Linked DNA regions of Homo sapiens: regions 2, 3, 4, 5 and 6 are each linked to region 1. Evidence: promoter capture Hi-C in 16 types of primary human blood cells and fetal thymus (Javierre and others, 2016). All regions are on one chromosome and are shown on one strand. Each heading gives the region's core, a stretch centred on a gene start or on the middle of the fragment in contact. The rest is flanking DNA. Distances are from core to core; before and after follow the strand shown.

Region 1 (2,963 bases), core at 295-2,794:
CAAAGGAGATGTTTGTGTTTGGCTAGGTTTTTACTAAAGCCCTTACTCCCTCTAGTGGGAAGACGGAGCTGTGCAGCATCCGTAGCAAGGTGTGTGCTCTTCAGGGCTAAAAGTCCTTTGGAATCAAGATTGTTTCTTGTTTCTTTTTTTTTCTTTTTTCCTTTTTCTCTTTCTTTTCTTTTCTTTCTTTCTTTCTTTCTTTCTTTCTTTCTTTCTTTCTTTCTTTTTCGTTTTTCTCTTTCTTTCTTTTTCTGTTTCTTATCTCCTCAGCTTGAAGGTTGCATCCTCTTTATCTCCTTAAGTAAAGCTGGGAGTTCTGTAGTACTCCAGGAGTGAGGACAATTATGCTTAAGAAACTTTGGTTTCAGTTTAGTCCCAGACCAAGAGGAAAACATTTCAAAATTTTAAAGTAAATCCTAAAAGTGTAATTTACACCAGAGCGATTGACCTGGCATTTATGTAGACTGAAGCTTGAGAAGTAATTCAAGTGGTTTCCACTCATTCCCTTGGAAGAGTCCTTAGAATGTACTTCCATTGGTCTGAAAAACGCCTGAAAAAGAGTCCTGATGCTAACAGTAATGGAAATAGGAGGGCTGGTGGTTCACGATCAGCCCAGTGGTATCCTCTATTCTATTTGCATCTAGGTAAAGAGACTGTGGCCTGTATGTGATCAAACAATTTGTTGAAGCGCTTTGGGCTTAGGGCATTTAATTTCTGTGAAGTAGGACCATCAGTTGTTTGCTCTGTTTTTGTGTCACCTCTCAGAATACATTAAAGTAGGGGCAACCCTTGAGCCCAGACTTCTGCCATGTGAAGACCCTTTGAAAATCCTGACAAACACAGGTACTGCGTAAGTGGTCAGCTAATTAAAGAGGGGAGGTGGAGCTGTCCTTTGTGTATCCAATAAGTACCCATTATCTCATTTGAGCATGAAAAGAGGCCACTGTTATTACTTTCAAGAAGGAAAGTAAGCAGGATAGCTCATATTTTTAGAACAATTCCTCACCAAATGGAATAATTCCGGTGAAAAGTGGGAGTGAGGAAGAAAGAAAAAAAAAACTTCTAATCATAATGTTTGGGAATAAGAAAGGAAGAAGAAACTCACGTCAAAGCCGACTTTCTCCTGCAGCTGTAAAATAAACTCTTAAGACCCTTCCTGCTGAAACTCTGGAGAGGAAAACTGGAGTGGCGGGTGGGCTTTGCCTGCAGCTCAACTCTCCCTCGCGGCGCGGGCGCGGCTGGGTTCAGCACCTCGGAAAGCGCCCCTCGCGGCGCCCCGGGATTACGCATGCTCCTTGGGGCCCGCCGCCTTGGCCGTGCAAGTGCCACCGTAACTGGTGAGAGCCGCTGGCAACCCACCCGGAGTTGACAACCGCGGAGAGACGCAGACACCCACTGACCTCCAGGAAGCTGAGCGTGGTGGATGGAACTCTACGATCTCTTTCTCTCCAAGGACGGAAACCTCATCCAAGCAGTCCCAGAGGAAACGGATAAAGGTATTTGAAAGGGAGCGAGCGGCCCCAAATCGCACAATTGAGCGGCTGGGGGAGTTATGCGCCAGTGCCCCAGTGACCGCGGGACACGGAGAGGGGAAGTCTGCGTTGTACATAAGGACCTAGGGACTCCGAGCTTGGCCTGAGAACCCTTGGACGCCGAGTGCTTGCCTTACGGGCTGCACTCCTCAACTCTGCTCCAAAGCAGCCGCTGAGCTCAACTCCTGCGTCCAGGGCGTTCGCTGCGCGCCAGGACGCGCTTAGTACCCAGTTCCTGGGCTCTCTCTTCAGTAGCTGCTTTGAAAGCTCCCACGCACGTCCCGCAGGCTAGCCTGGCAACAAAACTGGGGTAAACCGTGTTATCTTAGGTCTTGTCCCCCAGAACATGACCTAGAGGTACCTGCGCATGCAGATGGCCGATGCAGCCACGATAGCCACCATGAATAAGGCAGCAGGCGGGGACAAGCTAGCAGAACTCTTCAGTCTGGTCCCGGACCTTCTGGAGGCGGCCAACACGAGTGGTAACGCGTCGCTGCAGCTTCCGGACTTGTGGTGGGAGCTGGGGCTGGAGTTGCCGGACGGCGCGCCGCCAGGACATCCCCCGGGCAGCGGCGGGGCAGAGAGCGCGGACACAGAGGCCCGGGTGCGGATTCTCATCAGCGTGGTGTACTGGGTGGTGTGCGCCCTGGGGTTGGCGGGCAACCTGCTGGTTCTCTACCTGATGAAGAGCATGCAGGGCTGGCGCAAGTCCTCTATCAACCTCTTCGTCACCAACCTGGCGCTGACGGACTTTCAGTTTGTGCTCACCCTGCCCTTCTGGGCGGTGGAGAACGCTCTTGACTTCAAATGGCCCTTCGGCAAGGCCATGTGTAAGATCGTGTCCATGGTGACGTCCATGAACATGTACGCCAGCGTGTTCTTCCTCACTGCCATGAGTGTGACGCGCTACCATTCGGTGGCCTCGGCTCTGAAGAGCCACCGGACCCGAGGACACGGCCGGGGCGACTGCTGCGGCCGGAGCCTGGGGGACAGCTGCTGCTTCTCGGCCAAGGCGCTGTGTGTGTGGATCTGGGCTTTGGCCGCGCTGGCCTCGCTGCCCAGTGCCATTTTCTCCACCACGGTCAAGGTGATGGGCGAGGAGCTGTGCCTGGTGCGTTTCCCGGACAAGTTGCTGGGCCGCGACAGGCAGTTCTGGCTGGGCCTCTACCACTCGCAGAAGGTGCTGCTGGGCTTCGTGCTGCCGCTGGGCATCATTATCTTGTGCTACCTGCTGCTGGTGCGCTTCATCGCCGACCGCCGCGCGGCGGGGACCAAAGGAGGGGCCGCGGTAGCCGGAGGACGCCCGACCGGAGCCAGCGCCCGGAGACTGTCGAAGGTCACCAAATCAGTGACCATCGTTGTCCTGTCCTTCTTCCTGTGTTGGCTGCCCAACCAGGCGCTCACCACCTGGAGCATCCTCATCAAGTTCAA
Region 2 (2,963 bases), core at 54-2,553, 480 kb before region 1:
TTGAATTACTTTGGCTATGGATAGAAACAGTAGTTTATAGATTTAGAAATTTAGGATTTTATATATTGGGTTTACTTGTAGTAAATATTATCATCTGTCTCTTTCAGACAACCACATTAATTGGCAACTTGTATGCCAAGACTCAGACCATGCCATTTTTCTTTAAATTTTCAGGTGTATTGGCACTCTAGTGCTCACATAATGGGTGAAGCCATGGAAAGAGTCTATGGTGGATGTTTATGCTACGGTCCGCCAATAGAAAATGGATTCTATTATGACATGTACCTCGAAGAAGGGTAAGCCATCAACTAGATAAAGAAAACTGAAGTCAATGACTATGGATCCATAAGTTATTCTTAAGAGTTCTCAGTAAGGGAGGAATGATATAGATCTCACTGCTTCTTCATCAGGTATGCCCATTATCAGTACTTGAAGTGTTGCAATTTACCTGAAGTAATAGAGGATTTGATGAGACCTCTGTTCTAGATTGATGGAGGTAGAGTCCTAAGGTATTTTGGGAAATTCAGGGAGACTGGTCCTCCCCTCTCCTTTAAAACCTGGTGATAGAGTTGCGGGAAGGGGTCACTAGTGAGAAAGGTCTCCATGGATGACCAAGGTAGAAGCTACTGAAAATATAAAATGTAAAAATTACTTATGAAAAATGTTTTGTTTAGAATTCTAAGATACGATGCAATAGTCTAATTTTTTAATATTAAAACCCTTGAAGTATTCCAAATACTATTTCCAAATGAACATTTTTCGAAGCCATGGTGTGATTCGAATGGAATGAAAAGATTATACTTTCTTCTCCTTCAGGGGTGTGTCTAGCAATGATTTCTCTTCTCTGGAGGCTTTGTGTAAGAAAATCATTAAAGAAAAACAAGCTTTTGAAAGACTGGAAGTTAAGAAAGAAACTTTACTGGCAATGTTTAAGGTAAATTGAACCATAGTGCGTGGCCCCCACTGTTAATATCATTTATTCATGTTAGTTGAAGTGACACCACTGGCGTTCCGTGTACTAAGCTGAAGTCTAATTGGTTCTTTAGCAAAAATTAAGTGTTTTTATTATTTTTTTAATTTCATTTTTTTCCTAGCAAACCATTCCTTCAACATGTTTTTAAAACATGAAGTATCAACATTTATATTCATACAGTGCTACGTTTTAGCTATAGTACTTAGAAGTAAAAATTAAAGGACAGTTTTTTAAAATAATAATTTTTCCTGTTTTCAGTACAACAAGTTCAAATGCCGGATATTGAATGAAAAGGTGAATACTCCAACTACCACAGTCTATAGGTAAGAATATTAGATGTCATTAAATGTATCTGGTATGTATGTCATTTTGTCTTTGTTAAAATTCCTTTCATTTTATCTTTAGATGTGGCCCTTTGATAGATCTCTGCCGGGGTCCTCATGTTAGACACACGGGCAAAATTAAGGCTTTAAAAATACACAAAGTAAGTAATGTAACTTTAAAGACTGTGAATGTATCTGTCTAGAATAGATATATGTTTAAACTTTCACTGATTTCTCTTTACCATTTTCTGTTGCACATGAAAGGATGGTATTTTCTCATGCTCTCTATTAACTGGGAGCTGTATGCCATCAGGATTTTATAATTGAAATCCCTCAAGGGGTGACTGACTTGCTGTCATTGCCAGAGCAATCACAGGGGATGGAGATTTTACAAAATCATACAGCATGGGCCATCCTGGCTCTATAAAAGCTTTGAGACTCACTGGGAGTATGTGCTTTTGCCCTTTATATGTCTAAATTAATAATTTCCCAAGTTGTTGTTTTTAACAGAACCCAGTTTTATACTAGTTCATAAACATTTTATGGAGGTTTTTAAAATGCACTTTAAATCAAGAGAATAATTGAGTCATTTCAAGATTTTTTTTTTATTGGCTCATTTCTATTTTTGCTCATTTTGTGAGAAATGCCTTTGCAGGCAAAGTAATGTTTGTGGAATTGTGGTTGAGTATTGAGGGGTGGGCAGTTTTGGGGGTATTGGGGTGTAGAATGGGTCTCACTCTGTTGCCCCAAAAAGACAGAGTGGAGGACCACTTGAGCCTGGGAAATGAGGTTGCAGTGAATGGAGATCGTGCCACTGCACTCCAGGCTCAAGCAGTCCTCCTGCCTTAGCCTCCTGAGTAGCTGCGACCATAAGCGCACACCACCATGCCTGGGTAATTTTCTTTTTTTTAAATAAAGAATGGGGTCTCCCTGTGTTTCCCAGGCTGGTCTCGAACTCCCAGGCTCAAGCAATCCTCTTGCCTCGGCTTCACAGAGTGCTGGGATTACAGGCATGAGCCACTGCACCCACCTGCAGATTGAGGGAGGGGCATTTTTGAGGATAGAAAACAGCCAACTTTGTGCTGCAGAATGAGTAACTACTCTAACAAGGCCTCAAAGCAATTGGGAGTTAAAATAAGTGAGATGTTTACAAATTTGAATGTTGTTTCATGGTTAATCCTTGTTTTCAGAATTCCTCCACGTACTGGGAAGGCAAAGCAGATATGGAGACTCTCCAGAGAATTTATGGCATTTCATTCCCAGATCCTAAAATGTTGAAAGAGTGGGAGAAGTTCCAAGAGGAAGCTAAAAACCGAGATCATAGGAAAATTGGCAGGGTATGTTCAAGAACAATGATGTGTCTTGACTGAGTTTTCTTCAACTTCATTTGAAGTTTGAAATTCAGCTGCATGAAGTACTAGGAATTTTGTTTTGAAGAGATGTTGTGGCTTTTTAGTAACTGGTGCTATGTCCTGTACAAACTATAAACACTTACTGATTGTCCACATTATCTGCCTGGAGTATGCTCAGTACCGCACAAAAATGCATTTGAACTACTTTTATTGAGAGCAAACACTGATGATCTACGGTTTTCTGTAAAAGAAGTATAACAGCTTCTCATAGAGCTGGGAGAACTATGGAAACCCTCTAGTTTCACTGACTCATTT
Region 3 (2,963 bases), core at 152-2,651, 440 kb before region 1:
ATCTTCATGATTTTTTCCCCCTAGTGGATAATGAGGTAACAGGGAGAGAAAAGAAAAATAATTGTGCTCCTTAGCAGATCTGTGGGGTCTTTATGTACATAGGGGAAAAGACTTTTCTAGCTCTCTGTTGATCTTTAAGGGCCTTTAATTTAAAATATTCATCATACCCAGGAGAAATATTTTCAGGGGAGATATTTGGTTTCTTTCACCTTTGACAAGGCCAGACAAAGATCCTCTAAATTCCTATTCTCTGCCTCGTAAATGACTAGCTGAACTGCTTGTGACCATGGAATCTAAATCTGAACAAAGTTCTTGTTAATCAAACTTTGGTTAAGATTATCTCCTTCTCCTAGATCCCAGAATTTGACCCATCCTTAGCCTGAGCTAGCATACAACTCCTTCTTAACAGCACCTTCTGAAAATAGGCTGGCTCCAGGGTCAAGCAATCTCTGATCTACTATCAGATTAGCCACCTCACTCTTTCATTCCTCTGTCCCACCCCAGATTCTTTCTAGCCAAGGGTCTGACTCTGTCACTCAGACTGGAGTTCAGTGGTACAATCATACCTTACTGCAGCCTTGACCTCCCAGGCTCAAGCAATCCTTCCCAACTCAGCCCCCCAATCAGCTCAGTTAGCTGGGACTACAGCACGCGCCATCACACCCAGCTAATTATTATTATTTTTTTTGTATAGATAGGATCTCACTATATTGCCCAGGTTGGTCTTGAACTCCTCAAGCAATCTTCCTATCTTGGCCTCCCAAAGTGCTGGGATTACAGGCATGAGCCACCATGCCTGACCTACCATTTTGCCTAACTCTTGAATTTGCAGATCTTGTCGAAGACTTCTCCCTGTTGCAGTAGTCTCCCTCCTCCTATTGCAAAATCCCTTCTTTCCTCTCAGCTCTACTTCTTGAAGTAATCTTTAAAAATAAAATTTCTCCTTATCTAAGTGCAGATTTAGTTTTTATTTGACAATGCCTGGCTAGTATCAGTAGATATTATTGTTAGTATTTCCTTACATCCCCTTTCTTCGTCCTGGCTAAAACTTGTTCAGTATAGACAGGAAGCGATGGGAGAATTCATCTTGCCTTCTATGCAATCACCCAATGGGTTCTTCTGCTCTCTGCATAGACAAAAAACGATACACTGAGACTGTGGTATTGAAGTAGAGAAAGAGCTTAATTAATGCAGAGCTAGCCAAGCAGAAGTACTAGAATTATTACTCAAATTAGTCTCCCTGAGAACTAGAGATTTTATGGATAATTTGGTGATCAAGGGTCTAGGAAATGGGTGCTGCTGATTGGTTGGAGATAAAATCATAAGGGTATGGAAAACAGTTCTTGCACATTGAGTCCACCTCTAGGCAGGGGCCACAATTCTGGTTGAGTCATGAGTCCTGGGTCCAGGTAGAGTCAATCAGCTGACAGAATGCAAAAGTCTGAAAAACATCTCAAAAGACCAATCTTAAGTTCTACAATAGTGATATTATCTATAGGAGCAACTGGGGAATTCACAAATCTTGTGACCTCTGACCACATGACTCTTGAACTGTAAGGGATTATAGGAACTATGCTTACATTTTAGCAGAATTCAGGCCCCTTCCATTGTCCTAATCTTGTGACCTTTCATTTGTTTTACAAAGGCAGCTTTGGTCCTTGAGCAAGGAGGGAGGTTAGTTTAAGGGAGGGACTATAATTATCCTTGCTTCAAAGTTAAACTATAAACTGAATTCTTCCCATGGTTAGCTTGGCCTATGCCCAGAAATGAGTGAGATCAGCCAGCATGTGAAGCTGGAAGCAAGATGGAGTTTGCCATGCTAGATTTCTCTTACTGTCATAACCTTTACAAAGGTGGTTTCACTTGTACCTAATGAGTGTACATTAATTAGTCTTGGTCCCAAAAAGAAAGAGATGGCATAATTAGACCCTGCATGATTTGAGGGGGATTTATTTACAAGAAGGACTAGTTAAAAAGGTATGGCTGGTGCAAGAGAACCACAAGTGATAGTAGCAACAGAATTTTCACCATCTCTAGGTTTAAGGGGACAGAAGAAGAAAGATACTACCAGTATATGGAAGGATAGAGTCATATTGAACAGGCCAGTTGGAGAGCAGCATTGACCTTCAAACAATGAAATAACCCATCCAACCTGGACCAGTGGAGCAACTGTTGTGAAAGCTGACTAAAGCCATCTTTATCAGGTTAACAAGAATTCTGTACAGAAATATAGTTATGATTAAGCATCAATTGGGCTGCACTTTGGCCCATTTCTTTGTAACCAAAAGTCACATAGCATTAGATACTGACCATTTGCATTCCCATTGTTCCTATAGATAGGATTTCTGATGTTAGAATCATAAAACTTTTGTGTAAGGATTATTTAAGATGTTTTTCAAATCCTGAATTACAGCAAAACAGCTGACACCAACCAGAGAAATGAAATCAGCGTGAGAATACAGTTTCTCCACCTCTCTGTCCTGTGACTCTATACTGCACTCTTCAACCAGTCGGTGATCTCCATATTTTGTCCCACTCTAAAACCTTTAAAAACCGTAACCCCAAGCCAGGCACAGTGGCTCATACCTGTAATCCCAGCACTTTGGGGGGCTGAGGTGGGTGGATCATTTGGGATCAGGAGTTCGAGACAAGCCTGGCAAACACGGTGAAACCCTGTCTCTACTAAAAATACAAAAAAATTAGCTTGGCATGGTGGCACATGACTGTAATTCCAGTTACTTGGGAGGCTGAGGCAGGAGAATTGCTTGAACCCAAGAGACAGAGGTTGCAGTGAGCCAAGGTCATGACATTGCACTAGAGGCTGGGTGACAGAATGAGACTCTGTCTCAAACACAAAAAACAAAAAACCCTAGCCCCAAACTCCACAGGGAGATGGATTTGAGATTTCCTCCTGTCTCCTGGTTCACCAGCCTTGTGATTCAATCTCTTTCTCTGCTGCATCT
Region 4 (2,963 bases), core at 197-2,696, 430 kb before region 1:
TGAACGAATTACATAGGGCTGATAAAAAATGATTATGGATTTTGTTTGGAATCTTGTGGATACTGTTCTATGTTTTGATTATAAGGACCCTCCTTCTCTCTTCTTCTACATTATTTGTAATGCATAACAATTTAGTAGATTATACTTTTGTAAACAGAACTGAAACAATTATATTTTTTCCTTGGCTTGATTCTTCCAGAATTTGCAAATTCTTATATTTTTATTTCATGACAACATAATTTTTCTGCATAGATTCAATGAGTCTGACCCCTTTGTTAACAGGAAATAATTAGAAACATTGGTTATATAAACCAAAGCTTTGACTGAAGTGTCATATTTGAGAATGATGATCATAGAAACATAGAATCAACTGTTAGTAGCTAAGGCTGATTTTATGTAGCTAATGCCTACAAAACTCTCTTGGGAAAACCCAGCCTGGTACTTGGCTTACAGAGTTCCCAGCCTTATAGGTGAGTAAGGAAGGTCACATCCTGGCAGGCCCAGGAACTTTACAATATTTTGGAAACCTTGAGAAGACAGGAGTTCATCCAAATCTAAAGCTACTGCAGGTAAAGTCTGGTAGTGAGTTCTTGGCATGGCTTCCTAGCCTTGACGTGCTTTTAGAAGTCTAATCTCAGATTCCTTATGAAAAACTTCAGTAAAGCAAACTAAAAAAGGTCTATTATGGTATAAATTACCTTTCTTGCTGTATTTATGTAAACGATCAGGCCAAATCTAATGATATCGGCCCTATTTTATAATCAAGAACATTTTTTCTTTGGGATTATCTTTGATCATAAAAGGGTAACTGTTGAGAAAAATTTTGTTTTTCATAGAAAATTATAGCACACTATTGTGGATTATCAGATTCTGATCATATTCATAGTTTTTGAGCTATATAACATCTCTTTGTTAATTGTAGGTAACTAATGAATATGAAAAAAATCTCCAAAATATGTTAACATGTTACTTACCTGTAAATTGAACTGAATCCTGTCATCTTCCATTCATTGCCAACTGTTACCAAATTTCCAATTCTTCAATTTTTTTTAAAACTATCTAGCCACAACCCTCTACTTCCTGATGTGGCATCACTGAGAATTAAATCCTAACTGCTCAGATCCTTATTGGAACCCTAGGTTGCTTTGTAGCTGGCCTTCCCACCCCTCTCCCGCCAAGGATCTGAAAAAGTATTGAGAGTTAAAGCCCAATGATTTGATATGTACTTCAAAAGTCTCATCACTACAGCAGTCCATGCATAGGCTGGATCTCTCCCTGGACCAGCCACTATCTGGACCACTAAGGAAGTCTGGCAAAATACTCAGGTCATGCTCATGCATGCCCTTATTGATAGGACACTCTGAGTATGAAAAACATCACCAGAGTCTCTAAACCTTTGCTTCAAGGAACTCAATCAGCAGCCTCTGGTAACCACTATTCCACTCTATTTCTGTAAGTTTGAATGTTTTAGATTCCACATGCTGTGAGATCATACAGTATCTGTGCCTGGGCTTATTTCACTTAATGTAATGTCCTCTATGTTTATCCATGTTGTCACAAATGACGGAATTTCTTGCTTTTTTTGGTTGTTGTTCGTTTCTTTTTTTAAAGGCTGAATAGTACCGTATTCTATTGTATGTATGTATACCACCTTTTAAAAATCTATTCATTCAGGCTGGGCGCGGTGACTCAAGCCTGTAATCCCAGCACTTTGGGAGGCCGAGGTGGGCGGATCACGAGGTCAGGAGATCGAGACCATCCTGGCTAACACAGTGAAACCCCATCTCTACTAAAAATACAAAAAAAAAAATTAGCCAGGCGTGGTGGTGGGCGCCTATAGTCCCAGCTCCTCGGGAGGCTGAGGCAGGAGAATGGCGTGAACCTGGGAGGCGGAGCTTGCAGTGAGCCGAGATCGCGCCACTGCCCTCCAGCCCGGGCGACAGAGCGAGACTCCATCTCAAAAAATAAAAAAATAAAAATGTATTCATTCATTGATGAATGCTTAGGTTGCTTCCACATCTTGGCTAGTGTGAATAATGTTGCAATAAATGTAGAAGTGCAGATATCTATTCCACATACTAATTTTAGTTCCTTTGGGTATATACCTAGTAGTGGGATTGCTGGATCATATGGTAATTCTATTTTTAGGTTTTTGAAGAACCTCCATACTGTCTTCCAAAAAGGTTGTACTAATTTATAATACCACCAACAGTGTATAAAGATTGCCTGTTCTCAAAAACCTCACCAACACTTGTTATCTTACATCTTTTTGATGATAGCCTATCTAACATGTATAAGGTGATATAGCTCATTGTGGCTTTAATTTGCACTTCTCTTATTGTTACAGATGTTGAGCATTTAAAATATGTATCTATTGGCCATCTGTACATCTTCTTTTGATGTCTATTCAAGTCATTTGCCCATTTGTAAGTAAGATTGTTTTCTTGTTATTGAATAGTTTGATTTCCCTTGTGTATTTTGGATATTAATTAGCCCCTTATGAATGATTTACAAATATTTTCTCCCAGTCTGGGGCTTGTCTCTTCACGCTATTAATTGTTTCCTTTGTTGTACGGAAGCTTTTTAGTTTGACACAATCCCATTTGTCTATTTTTGCTTTTGTTGTCTGTGCTCTTGGGGTCATATCCAAAAAATCACTGCCCAGACCATGTCATGGAGCTTTTTCTATGTTTTCTTCCAGTAATTTTATAGTTTTAGGTCTTATGTTTACATCTTATTTCATTTTGAATTGGTTCTTGTATGAGGGGTGAGATAAAGGTACATTTTTATCCTTTTGTATGTGAATATCCAGTTTTCTCATTTATTGAAGGGACCATCCTTCCCCCATTGTGTGTTCTTGGCATCTTTGTAAAAAATCAGTCCACCATATGTTTATTTCTGGGCACTCATATTCTATTGGTTAATGTGTCTTTTTAAAAATTTACTTTTATTTTTCCGGCTTA
Region 5 (2,963 bases), core at 294-2,793, 410 kb before region 1:
TGCTATGGAAATAGTTGAATGCAGTGTCTTCCATGCTTCACTACATTTCATCTTTACAGTGCTACTAGCAGACAAGTATTTTTTCCATTTCACAAATGACGAAAGTAAGGCCTCAAGTAGTGAAGAACTTGTATAAGGTTGTCCAGCTGATAAATGGCATAGCCAGATCTGAACACAGGCAGTCTTAACTCTAGAGCTCATGCTCTAATCAATCATACTATTCAGAGTGTCAAGCCAACAACCCGTCAGCAAAATAACCAATGCTTCCGGGCCGGGCATGGTGGCTCACGCCTGTAATCCCAGCACTTTGGGAGGCTGACGTGGGCGGATCATGAGGTCAGGAATTCGAGACTAGTCTAGCCAACATGGTGAAACCCCGTCTCTACTAAAAATACAAAAAGTAGCTGGGCGTGGTGGTGGGCGCCTGTAATCCCAGCTACTCAGGAGGCTGAGGCAGGAGAATCGCTTGAAACCGGAAGGTGGAGGTTGCAGTGAGCTGAGATCGTGCCATTGCACTCCAGCCTGGGCAACAAGAGTGAAACTTCATCTCAAAAAAAGAAGAAAAAAAATAATAACCAATGCTTCCAGAGTGAGTGAGGGATACAGACATAAACTGTGATCCCCGCCCTGCAGAACTTTACCATGGAGGTGAAGGCAGAAGATATGTACAAATAATTCCCAGAGTAAGTATACAATTAGTCACCTGAGTTCTAACCCTTGTTCTCCTCTAACTAGCTCTGGGAAAGTGTGTCCTTTAATTTTCTTGGCCTTGCTTTTCCCATACATGAGTCAGGGAACGAGAGTGGGTTGCTCAGGGACCACCCCCACACATTTGTACGGGTGGTTCTCAGATGGCACTGGCCTACACGTTCCAGGTCTGTTAAGAATTCAATTAGATTTTTTTTTTTCTAGAAAGTGAAGTTGTTTTAAGCTTGCCTTAGGTACTTCTTGGAGCTCTCATCTTTCTTTCTCCTTTACAGAGAAAATATTTTCATAGTTCTGAAGAAAAGCACTTTCATAAACAGGCCGCTGTCCTTTGTAAAGGGAACAGTCAGGAAAAGTAGAAATGGAAATAATAGCCTCTCCACCCCAAATTTGCGACAGTATCTTTGCATCTCTATGCTTTTTTCACCTTTAGATCATAAAGGCAAAAAATTCTTTTTATCTCCTCAGAACTCCTTATTCTCTTAACTGTGCCTTATTTTTGTGAAGAAATGAATGTCTTCTGTTAGCTTCCAGAGTCCTGTTTGGTGCTGAAGTTTTAAGTGCCCTTAGGAATTGGTAACATATAATGCTCCTAGATTCCAAAATCTGAGTCTTCAGCTTTCCTTCTTCAGGCCTCTTCTTTAAGCCTCTTATAAAAACCCTGTCTCTCTTAAAACCCCACAGGAAATTGCCTGACACCCTTGGGAGTTTCAGAGAGAGAGTACACGTTTTTGTATTTTGAGACGGTTCCCTCTGTCTCCCAGGCTGGAGTGCAGTGGCACAATCTCGGCTCACTGCAACCTCTGCCTCCCGGGTTCAAGCAATTCTCCTGCCTCAGCCTCCTGAGTAGTTGGGCCTACAGGCATGTGCCACCATGCCCAGCTAATTTTTTTTTTTGTATATTTAGTAGAGACGGGGTTTCACCATGTTGGTCAGGCTGGTCTTGAACTCCTGACCTCGAATGACCTGCCTGCCTCGGCCTCCCAAAGTGCTAGGATTACAGGTGTGAGCCACTGTGCCTGGCCTTGTTTTTCTTTTTGTTTCAGATTTTCTCCTCAAAATTCAACTTCAGAGAGTACATGTTTTGACCAAGCATGTCTCTTGTGGAATATCCCTTCCAGCTCTTCATCTCCCTCATCCCAGCAGAGCAGTGGGTGTTGTTCACTGGACCTGGGCCATGCACTGTGTGCACTGCTGATCGGAACAAGGCAAGGCTTCCTTCCCGGGCTCTGGGAAGCCCCCTGGCAGGGCAGTCCAAGCATCACAAAGCCGCCCCAGTTTCTTAGCCAGCCTCTCCTGAAGTCTCTGTGGATGGAGGCTGGAGAGGGCACAGGTGGGGCGGCTCTTTGCCCCACAATCTCGTCGCTGTGTCTGTGAGTGCTCTAGGGTTGCTGGCCAGGAGGAGAAAGACAGAGGAAGGGTGGAGGCTCAGCTGACAGCAACCGTTCCACAAAGCTTCTTCTGGCAGCGCTGACCCACATGAGTCCCCTCTGTCTCCATCTCCAAACAGGCATTATTGTATTACACACTCGGGCACGGCACCATACTCTCTCTTGACCTGCTCTGTAAATTGAGCATAAGCCTCTTCTGCTAAGGGCAAAGGTATCTGCCATTATAAAAAGGACCTCTAGGAGGCCCCCCAAAGGTTGTGGGTTGAACTGTATCCTTTGAAATGTACCCCAGAGTGGAAGTCCTCACCCTTTGTATCTGTGAATGTGATCTGATTTGGAAATAAGATCTTGGCAGATAGAATAATGATGTCAGTTAAGATGAGGTCACTCTGAACTAGGGTGGGCCCTTCATCCAACCTGAGTGGTGTCCTTATAAAAAGAGGAGAAGAGACACAGAGAGAGACACACATACAGAGGAGGAAAAGCCGTGCTGAGACACAGACACAGAGAGGAAAGACAGCCATGTGGTAATGGAGGCAGAGACTGGAATTCAGTTTCTGTAAGCCAAGGAATGCCAGTGATGGCCGGCAACCGCCAGCAGCTGGGAGAATGACTGTGGCCCTACTAATACCTTGATTTTGGACTTCTAGCCTCCAGAACTGTGAGAATAGATTTCTGTTGTCTTTAGTCACCTAGTTTATTATAATTTGTTATGGCAGCATGAATATGTGTGCTTGTAGCCCAGGAAGCTAATATACCCCTTCCTCCATGAAAGCAGAAAAAACACAGATACAAATTATTAAGCATTTACCACACACTAGGCAATGTTTGATATATACTATACCATTTGATTGTCGCAGAAATCAA
Region 6 (2,963 bases), core at 1-2,500, 390 kb before region 1:
CCTCCCACACCACAGAGCAGGAGGCACCCCAGCAGCTCCCGATGTCGGGAAACACATGCATAGGAGTGTTTCTGCCACTCGCTAGTCTTGAGCCCTTGGGCCTGTCACTGAAGTACGCTGAGCCTCAGGTGTCCCATCTCTAAACTGGGATCATAACTGCTACCTCCCAGCTGTGGGGAGATTATAGACCCTGGGGCTGGAGTGCCTGCTGGCACAGCATCTGCCCCAGTGGGTGGCCATTCCGTCTGGAAGTCAGTATTCACTAGAGGCAGAGTGGCCTGCCTATCCCTTCCCAGGAGTGGGCATGGCTGCTAAGCCTTGTCCGTCTTTCCTTCAGAATACTGGTTTTCTCTATGATGCTGGATGCAGAATAGGTTACTATGTCTCTCTCATGAAGGGCCTTGAGTAGGGAAATAAACTGAATTAACTACTCAGTGGTTTGACTCATGGGTGTGAGCAAACACTGTCCTTGCCTCCACCGTCACCATTCCTCCTGCAGCACCATCACGTGCAGCCATCACTGAGAGTCTTCTCAGCACTTGCCCCCGATAGCCACTACACAGGCCCTACTCACTCCCTTCCTCTCTGACCCCACCCCTTGTGCAGCAGCCCAGGTTCACCAGCAGGCTGCTGATTTCCCTTGGACCGTGATAAACACTGATGGGTCTGGGTCACCTACAACCAAGTTTGCACAGCCTGTTCCAGAGTGCTGCTTTTGTTGACTCTCTGACTTCTTGGATTTTGGCAGCTCCCCACTCCCTGACCTACAAAGATTTTATCTGATCATAACTTGTGCTTCTAGGACTTGCTCTCTGGTCTGTTTAGAACTCTAGTGCTTGCCATAGGCCTTCTGCTTATCTTCCCTCTGCAGCCTGGTGTCTCATGGCCAGACCTGGCCTGACCAGTCTTGTTACTGCCCACACTGAGGTGGGGACCTGAGGTAGGTGGGATGGAGGCTAACATCTGTGCTCGTCAGCCCAGGTTCTTCCCCAGGTTCTCCTCGGGTTAATACAATGTCCTTGGGGTTCCCATGTCCTGAATGTTCCTTCCTCTATTCTCTGCATTACCCATCACTGCTTTTTTTTAATGCCTCATTTTCAATGGCACCTCTTCTGAGAGGTTCTCATGGAATACCTGATCTAAAGGAGGTGATTTCTCTTGTAATTTGTCTCAGCTCCTCTTCTGTTTTCATCCCACAAAGCTAAACTGCAGAGCAACTTTGATTGATTTTGTCCATCCTTTCTACTATCCATCACTGCCATGAAAGCAGAGCCTGCCCTGCCCTGCCCTGTTCCGCATCACACCATGGATCCCTAGCACAGGGACAGACACAGTGTAGATGGCCATTATGAAGCTGTTGAATCAACATTGAATTATGAGAAAATGCCAGCTGGGAGGGCTCCCAGTGGGCTAAAGAGATCTCCAGTAATCATAGGATAAAGAATGTGCTTCTTTACCCTCTGAATCCTTCCATCAATGATCTCATTGGCAGTCTTGGCTGAGGAAACAAGTCACCAAGAAAGGGTATCCCTTGCTGTAAGGTATATTTTCATCTGGCTCTTCTCTCTGAAGGGTAAAAGACCATGCTGTCTTTCTGGCTATGGTGGAATAGCCATGATTCTAGGGCTGTGGTTGAGGAAAGAAAATTCCTCACGACTTTTCAGTAGACATAGACCCCAAATACTGCTCCCCTTTATTCCTCTGATTGGCAGATTTCACCAAGTCACCTGACTTCAAACATTGGTCTGTATTTTGGAAACACATGGGCCCATGTGATGAGGGGACAGATTGATGCTCTGGTACTTCCATAAATCAAGTGTGTTTAGATTATCAGAAATAAGCAATACTTGCCAACAGCTTCCCAAAAGTGCAAATTAAAAACTTTGTTTTCCTGCCACACAGTAAGCACACAAAGAAAAACAGTAACAGCAAACTTAAAATTTGCCATAGAACAAATGAGAAAGCATGCTAATAGCTTCCACTCAAAGCAACTATTTGTCTGACAAAATAAATTTCCAGGAAATAGCCCATAGTTAAAACAAGAGTACTTTTTATTAGGAAAAGGGGATTTAAAAGACATAAGCATAAAATGAGATTTTACTTTTTTATTTTCTATTTGTTGCTATAATCTGTTATTCCTAAATTTATTTTTCAAATTAGCATTACTCTTTTGTCAAGAGCATGTGCACATTCAGTGGGAAATAAAATTTATTAATATGCTGAAGTCAGTAATAAGGGAAGACACTCACTAAATCTATCATTATTCTATTCCATTTTCAAAAGAGCCTCTGATTCTGTTAGCAAGAGGGAAGTGACAGCATATTAAGTCACTCCAGTCCTAACGCTCTTTTGCTTTTGTGTGCTGAATGACAATTGTTATGTTATATTCATTTTCTTATTGCCTGAGAGGAAGGCCGTTTGTATTCCTGTTTTCCTAATGTAAAGCCTGCGAACCAGACTGACGACAAGAGGCAGGCTAATGAGAACAGAAAGACTGGTAAATGCCCTGTTGAAACCAAACAGGTCTGATAGTATCCAGTTACCACATCACTACATCAGTTTGTTTAATTCCTGTGATTTGCACAGCAAATTGAGTTAGAATGAAAAATATCCTTAGCTTACTGGGGCCACTGGCAGAGGTAAAATGAAATCAAAACCTTTTCTTTCTTGTGCTATTTTTGATTTATGAAATCCTAGTACACTTCCCAGGCTGAACTTCTACAGAGTATTCAGAGAAGTATAGCACAACTAACAAACACAGGATTGGGGGACTAACAGACCAACTCCATCTATGACCCTGGCATCAAGTGGCTATGTGACTGCAGATTAATCACTGCACTTCTCTAAGGCTCCATTTCTCCATTGGTATTCAAAAGAGGATAAACTAGATGATTAAACTATCCCAGCATTCTAGAGTGTCATAAATGTATGAGATCACTGAGTTTGTGCTCTGTTTTGATTTC

What was found. Contacts are between HindIII fragments. The CHiCAGO score rates a contact against its expected background, and 5 or more counts as called.
Region 2: a contact is called between a fragment that was not itself captured here and the fragment with the promoter of RXFP3 in region 1, in 10 of 17 cell types (fetal thymus, naive CD8 T cells, total CD8 T cells and 7 more). The highest score is 8.7, in fetal thymus.
Region 3: a fragment that was not itself captured here is called in contact with the fragment with the promoter of RXFP3 in region 1 in 12 of 17 cell types (endothelial precursors, total CD4 T cells, non-activated CD4 T cells and 9 more); the score reaches 12.1 in endothelial precursors.
Region 4: a contact is called between a fragment that was not itself captured here and the fragment with the promoter of RXFP3 in region 1, in 3 of 17 cell types (endothelial precursors, naive CD4 T cells and activated CD4 T cells). The highest score is 8.5, in endothelial precursors.
Region 5: a contact is called between a fragment that was not itself captured here and the fragment with the promoter of RXFP3 in region 1, in 2 of 17 cell types (endothelial precursors and total CD4 T cells). The highest score is 7.1, in endothelial precursors.
Region 6: a contact is called between a fragment that was not itself captured here and the fragment with the promoter of RXFP3 in region 1, in 1 of 17 cell types (endothelial precursors). The highest score is 5.5, in endothelial precursors.

What each region holds. Positions count from the first base shown.
Region 1 is chr5:33,934,842-33,937,804 of GRCh38, forward strand. It overlaps RXFP3 (relaxin family peptide receptor 3), which reads left to right and starts at 1,545. Exons shown (of 1, transcript NM_016568.3): 1 at 1,545-2,963. The coding sequence starts at 1,900. The HindIII fragment of the contact is 5,701 bases long and covers 469-2,963 here.
Region 2 is chr5:33,454,771-33,457,733 of GRCh38, forward strand. TARS1 (threonyl-tRNA synthetase 1) reads left to right here. Exons shown (of 19, transcript NM_152295.5): 5 at 175-296; 6 at 817-934; 7 at 1,232-1,296; 8 at 1,379-1,457; 9 at 2,487-2,633. Among named protein-coding and RNA genes, the nearest start is that of TARS1, 15 kb to the left of the region's middle. The HindIII fragment of the contact is 842 bases long and covers 883-1,724 here.
Region 3 is chr5:33,490,462-33,493,424 of GRCh38, forward strand. No RefSeq gene overlaps it. Among named protein-coding and RNA genes, the nearest start is that of TARS1, 51 kb to the left of the region's middle. The HindIII fragment of the contact is 3,346 bases long and covers 1-2,963 here.
Region 4 is chr5:33,507,782-33,510,744 of GRCh38, forward strand. No RefSeq gene overlaps it. Among named protein-coding and RNA genes, the nearest start is that of TARS1, 68 kb to the left of the region's middle. The HindIII fragment of the contact is 2,262 bases long and covers 316-2,577 here.
Region 5 is chr5:33,528,496-33,531,458 of GRCh38, forward strand. The region is part of intron 23 of ADAMTS12 (ADAM metallopeptidase with thrombospondin type 1 motif 12); the gene reads right to left. Among named protein-coding and RNA genes, the nearest start is that of TARS1, 89 kb to the left of the region's middle. The HindIII fragment of the contact is 1,229 bases long and covers 930-2,158 here.
Region 6 is chr5:33,549,519-33,552,481 of GRCh38, forward strand. All of the region lies in intron 20 of ADAMTS12 (ADAM metallopeptidase with thrombospondin type 1 motif 12), which reads right to left. Among named protein-coding and RNA genes, the nearest start is that of TARS1, 110 kb to the left of the region's middle. The HindIII fragment of the contact is 6,732 bases long and covers 1-2,963 here.